Regions from separate parts of the Homo sapiens genome. Here region 1 is linked to region 2. The links are contacts of gene promoters, found by promoter capture Hi-C in human tissues and cell types (Jung and others, 2019). All regions are on one chromosome and are shown on one strand. Each heading gives the region's core, a stretch centred on a gene start or on the middle of the fragment in contact. The rest is flanking DNA. Distances are from core to core; before and after follow the strand shown. Region 1 overlaps CCDC73 (coiled-coil domain containing 73). Region 2 holds the start of CCDC73 (coiled-coil domain containing 73).

Region 1 (3,082 bases), core at 227-2,726, 37 kb before region 2:
CATATATATATCTATATATATATCTCCATATATATCTATATATATCTCTCTATATATCTCCATATATATCTATATCTATATATATCCTTTTAAAGGTTATTTACAACATCAAGTCCAAGATAATTTATTACAATTGTATATTTTCTGTCTACCATTTGGGAAGATGTAAAGCCTATTTCTATTTATTTAGTCATTACCCTTAAAATTTTAATATTCCTACTTAACTGAAGAATATCTGTAGTTGGTCAGTATCTTTATATCTTCCGAACGATACAAGGACCTAAGAATCAGTCCCATCCAGGCTTAACAGTAACTGTGGTTCAGTGTTTTAATTCCACTTTTTTATCTTCAAAAACTAAATATAATTATTCATTTTTAATTGTATCAATCTTTTTGCACTCTGTTTTAAATGCTAAATAAAAAGATCTCTTCAGAAACTATTAATGAGAAGTATTAAAAATTTGCAATAAAGATTTGGGAGGGCATGAGACAAAATCAGTATCTCATAAGTAGTTCCTGAATAAGATCTGTTCTTGCTTATCACACATGCCTGCAAAATGTCTGGTACAAGAATATGCACAGCAATATGAATAGCAACTGTATTCATAAAAAACAACAACTGAAAATCCCTTAGGTATCCATAACTATGTTAATGAAAACAACAAACTATGGTACATTTATATTATAGATACTATTCAATGATAAAAACGAACTGACTACAAACACACACAACAAGAATAAATCTCAAAAATACTACACTGAGTTAAAAAAAACTTGCACAAAAAAAATACTGAATGATTCCCTTTATATAAAAATCTAGAACAGAGATAAGCTTATCTTTAGTGAAAAAAATTAGAACAGGGGCTGCCTCTGGATGAAAAGGGGTGAAGAATTTTATTCTACATAAATTTTATATTGAAAGAAAAAATAAACAAATATTATTAAAATCCAGTTAATAATATACATACTGAAGCATATAATTTCCAACTTATTTGGAAATGAATCCCAAAAATAAGACCAATGACAGATAGATATACTATGAGATCAAGCATAGAATCTGATTAGTAGGTACATTAGGTTACTATTACTACTGTAACAAATAACAACAAACTTAGTGGCTTAAAACAACTCAAATTTATTCTGTTGCAGTTCTGGAGGTCAGAAGTCCAAGGTATCTGCAGGGCGGCATACCTTCTACAGTCTCTGGGGGAGAATCCATTTCCTTGCTTCTTCCAGCTTCCACTTACATATGCTCCTTTGTTCATAGCATCTTCCTCCATCTTCAAAGCTAGCAGCATAACATCTTCCAGTCGCTTTCTCTTCGACTATAACCTTTAGTTCCACTATCACATCTCTTTCTCAGACTCTGATTCTCCTGTCTCCCTCTTATATGAATGCTTATGAGTACTCTGGGCCCATTCGAATAATCCAGCATAATCCCTCCATCTCAAAATGCTTAATTTAATCACACCTACAAAATTCCTTTTGCCATATAAGGTAACATATTCACAGGTTCTTGAAATTAGGACATGGACATGCTTGGGTGCCATATTCTGTCTACCACAATGGGTATATGGGTGTTCACTGTAAAGTTCTTTCAAGTATTACGTATGTTTGAAATTTTCCTACTAAAATGTTGAGGGGGAAATCTAGGAATACAGGTCAAGTACCGCCATCAGGGTAAATGGGAAAAACAGTAACAGTCTTTTTCTAATGAAAGTAAGGGATTTTTTCCCCTTTTTAAGAAGAAAGCTCTCTTTTCAATGAGGAATTTGATTGCTAGTATTATATACTTTTACATTTGATTATTAAAAACATTTTCCTCTTCATCCAGGGATGGCATCTAGATGCACTCAAAATGGTCCAGCATTTGACGTATCATCATGGGCTTTCCTACAATACAGCCTCTAACAAAACTAGGCTGTCCCAAACCCCTGGTAATAGAATTGTTTACCTTTATACCAAGAAGGTTAGGAAAGCACCAAAATCTCCACGTGGCATGCCTCCAAGTAGATTTCAAGGAGTTTGTGCTGTGAGACCTAAAGTTCTTATGAGGTTATCTTGAAAAAATGTGTCAGCAGAGCCTATGGTGGTTCCATGTATGCTAATTGTGTCCATGACAGGATCAAACATGCTTTCTTCATCAAGGAGCAGAAAATCCTTGTGAAAGTGTTGAAGGCACAAGCACAGAGTTTGAAAGCTAAATTTTAAAATGAAGCTTTCTTGGGTAATAAAAGAAAAAAAAAACGCTATTCCTTTTCTAATCTGAAATTTTTCAGAAAATTTTTAAAGGAAGCATATTTTTTAAGTTGGAAATATAAACAGACCAAAGTATAAAATTTAAAACATAATAAAACAGAATACTAAGTTTTAAATAGTGACCAAAAGTTGTTTCACTTAGGAAAGATAACATTTTAAGCTAATTTTACAAAAACACTTCTTTATAATACTTACCCAAAATACCATTTTTAGCAGAATTTCATCTTAAAACAGACTTTTATTACAATAATAAGTAGCTTTAAATAGGATGAACACTGTGGTATTTAAATTTTGTTATTGTAACAATAAATTTCAATATTTTAAAATCCTAGAACAATATTTGTATTATTATATAATAAAAATGTTGTTTCAGATCTTTTTCTCTCATTTATAGCTTATTTTCAGAAAGTCAGTAAATTCTATTGATTCTTCTTTCTGCCTCTTCTGTTCTATCTTCATGGTCATATATATGTCCTAGTGAACTCATTTCTATATCCTTATTGCAATAGTTTTATGGTTTTTTTTCTCTCGAGAATCTTCCAAGCTCCAATCTATCCTATATAGAGTTAAAATTTAGACCCATACAAGTCTCAGAAATAAAATGCTTTTTAATGGGATTTGCACAATATAGATAGCCTGCTGAAACCAACATTTTTTCCTTTTTTTTTTTTTTTTTTCTTGAGATAGAGTCTTGCTCCGTCACCCAGGCTGTAGTGCAGTGGCGTGATCTTGGCTCACTGCAACCTCCACCTCCTGGGTTCAAGCAATTCTTATGCCTCAGCCTCCTGAGCAGCTGGGACTACAAGCATGCGCCACCATATCC
Region 2 (3,370 bases), core at 574-3,073:
ATGGTTTTCCCATGAAGTGTAAGGAGAATACTGGGAATACCTACGGTACAGGGTTTGGGGTTTGTTTTTTTAGGATTAAATGAGATAACTTCCAGCCCCTGGCGTGTAATAAGCATTCCACATATGATATCTATTACTATTAGAATAACACTATCACCGCACCTGTACAGTTATTACGGGATACACGGCCAGAGCGAAAGAAACTAAAAACCCTATGCTGCCGCCTGGTGGACACTCGGAATTTAAAAATCTGTCATTCGCTTCCTTCCTGACACTACGATATGAAGCCGTATGGAAATTAAAACGTTTTCTCAAGCTGCATTAACACACTTTATAAATCATCAAAGTGGGGAATCTAATTTTCCAAAACTTAACAACTACCCCCAAGGCAACCCTGAAACCAGGGAGAGTTGTAAAGACTCAAATTGGCCGAAGAAATGGCTGAGAGAAGACACCAGTGAAGGACTACAGAGGAAACTCCATCCACAGCGTATTTGCTGATTCTCAGGTTGGGATATTTCAGTATAGATTTTTTCTTCAAGGTATAAAACAAAGAGAGCCATAGGAATTTATCACAACTAAAGCAAAATAACCAATAATCATCAATTCGAGGATCTCAATATAAGCAGAAGACTCCGTGGAATCTTCACATTTTCTTTCTAAAAGAAGTGCACTGATCATAAAGGTTCCCATAAATGACTTAAGGGTTGTCACTTATTTTCAGCAGCAAAGTGAAGTGGAAGATTGCAGCAATGACATGAATAATTTATTTTATTTTATTTTATTTTTTTAGACAGAGTCTCGCTCTGTTGCCCAGGCTGGAGTGCAGTGGAGTGATCTAGGCTCACTGCAACCTCCGCCTCCCGGGTTCAAGCAATTCTCCTGCCTCAGCCTCCTGAGTAGCTGGGACTACAGGTGCCCGCCACCACGCCCGGCTAATTTTTGTATTTTTAGTAGAGACGGGGTTTCACCATGTTGACCAGGCTGGTCTCAAACTCCTGACCTCAGGTGATCCGCCCGCCTCGGCCTCCCAAAGTGCTGGGACTACAGATGTGAGCCACCGCCCCGACCAAATAATTTATATCTAGAATTCAGCATTATCAGGATTAGCAGGGCAGTCATTTCATTCCCAGTGAGATTCCATTTAAATTTGCTCGTGCAAGGCAGTTTGGGAGAAACAAAATCACCAGCAGAATGAAGAAAAAATAGAGAAATGTCCCTGGGAATTTACACACTTCTGCAACTGCGCTAGAACTTTCGCACTATACTTAAAACATTCTGCAAAAAGTAACGTTCACCAAAGAAAAAGTCGAGATTCACCAATAACAGTTCCAAATGTTGCTAACTCTGAGCGGTCAGAGTTGTTTGAAAATTTTCAGAAGAACAATCGACATGATTGCATTGCATTCATAAGGCAAATATGAGGTTTAAAACAAAAACCACCACCACGCAAGGCACATGTACAGAAGGCGCTTCTCCACGATGAACAGACGAGACCCTCATGACTCACCCGCAGTCTCAATCCTGCCCAAGCAGAGATCCAGATGGATGCCTCAGTGTGGCTGCTTCTCCTGGGTCGGGAGCGTGGAAGATTCTAGACACAGCCCAGCAGTCAGGAGGCTCCAGGCCAAAGCAGCCCCTTGGCAACCAGAGCAAGGAAGGGTAGGTTACGCAGCTGGAGGTGCAGGGCAAACCCGTAAGTGGACCCTGCATGAAAAGATTAGGGCTGCTTCCTAAACAGCCCAACTACACGCTTGTGACTGCTCCGACTTACCTCAGCGAAGCGCGCCTCTAGCTCCTGTTGGCCCTTCCGGTTCACCTTTTCCCGCCCTAGGGCACTTCCGGCTTGAAGGTCATTAGCCTAAGATACGTGGGTAATCTTGAGCATCTGGGGCAAAATATGATTGATTTTATTTTCTTTTTAAATACAAGCTTCGGAAAAGATACCTGGATATTTGATGTTTTTCCTTAAGTACAACATGTATTGGCTTATATATTCTTTTTTGTTTTTGTTTGTTTTCGGTTTGTTTTTGGTTTTTTTTTTGAGACGGAGTCTCGCTCTGTCGCCCAGGCTGGAGTGGAGTGGCGCGATCTCGGCTCACTGCAAGCTCCACCTCCCAGGTTTATGCCATTCTCCTGCCTCAGCCTCCCGATATATTCGTTTTTTAAAAAAAAAGTCTTTGGAAAGATGAAAGAAAAATGAGTAAGTATTACCTGTGGGGAGCAATGGGAAGTGTGTGGATGGGAACGGGAGAGAGAGGGAGACTTCACTGAATAGCTTTTTATACTTTTTGATGTTTGCTTCATGTGAATGTGTTACTAATTCAAAAAATAAATGTTAGCCGGGTGTGAGGGTTCACTGGCTCATGCCTGTAACCCCAACAATTTGGGAGGCTGAGGTGGGAGGATTGCTTCAGGTCAGGAGTTCGATACCAGCCTAGGCAACATGGTGAGACCCCCGTCTCTACCCAAAAATACAAAAATCAGCCGGGCATGGTGGCGTGCGGCTGTAATCCCAGCTACTTGGGAGGCTGAGGCAAGAGGATAGATTGAGCCTGGGAGGTCAAGGCTGCAGTGACCCAAGACTGCACCACTGCACTCCAGCCTAGGCAATGGAGCAAAACCCTGTCAAAAAAAAAAAGAAAAGAAAAGTTGCTTAATTTTTAAAGTGAAATAGAAAAAAAACTGCAGTTCTAATTATACTGATAATCACACCTATTTTAAGCACCTAACTAATGCTATGTTTCAGTATGTTATGTTGAATAGTCATTCAATAAGAATGTAATATGTTTCAGGCCTACATTGTTTTTGCATGCTACCAAAATGTAAAAGAAGTGGTTCCTGCCCTCAAATTTTTTTTTTTTTTTTGAGAAAAAGTCTCATTCTTGTCCCCCAGGCTGGAGTGCAATGGCACGATCTCAGCTCACTGCAACCTCCGCCTCCCGGGTTCAAGCGATTCTCCTGCCTCAGCCTCCCGAGTAGCTGGGATTACAGGCGCCTGCCACCACACCTGGCTAATTTTTGTATTTTTAGTAGAGACGGGGTTTCACCATGTTGGCCAGGCTGGTCTTGAACTCCTGACCTCAGGTGATCTGCCCGCCTTGGCCTCCCAAAGTACTGGGATTACAGGCATGAGCCACCGCAGCCGGCCCCCCGCCCTCAAATTTTTAACCACGTTTTCCAGTAAAAATCTGTCTGGAATTCTTTTTACTCCTTCCCTTTCTCCAAGCGTTTGCCCAGATGTCACCTTTTTAGGGAAAGCATTCCTAACTACCCCATAGTAACACCCATGCACATCCCCTACTTTGACCCCACCTTGTTTTATTCTCTGTAGCACAATCACCATCTCGTCTGGTATATTTATTAACTG

Evidence for each region. Contacts are between HindIII fragments. The study calls those that stand out against the background at their distance.
Region 1: a fragment that was not itself captured here is called in contact with the fragment with the promoter of CCDC73 in region 2 in 1 of the 25 tissues and cell types used here (adrenal gland).

Annotation. Positions count from the first base shown.
Region 1 is chr11:32,756,410-32,759,491 of GRCh38, forward strand. The region is part of intron 2 of CCDC73 (coiled-coil domain containing 73); the gene reads right to left. It also overlaps the pseudogene RPL34P2 and the pseudogene LOC124902803. Among named protein-coding and RNA genes, the nearest start is that of CCDC73, 37 kb to the right of the region's middle. The HindIII fragment of the contact is 3,317 bases long and covers 1-3,082 here.
Region 2 is chr11:32,792,839-32,796,208 of GRCh38, forward strand. CCDC73 (coiled-coil domain containing 73) reads right to left here and starts at 1,824. Exons shown (of 18, transcript NM_001008391.4): 1 at 1,775-1,824. RefSeq lists silencers at 140-189, 200-319. The HindIII fragment of the contact is 8,709 bases long and covers 1-2,659 here.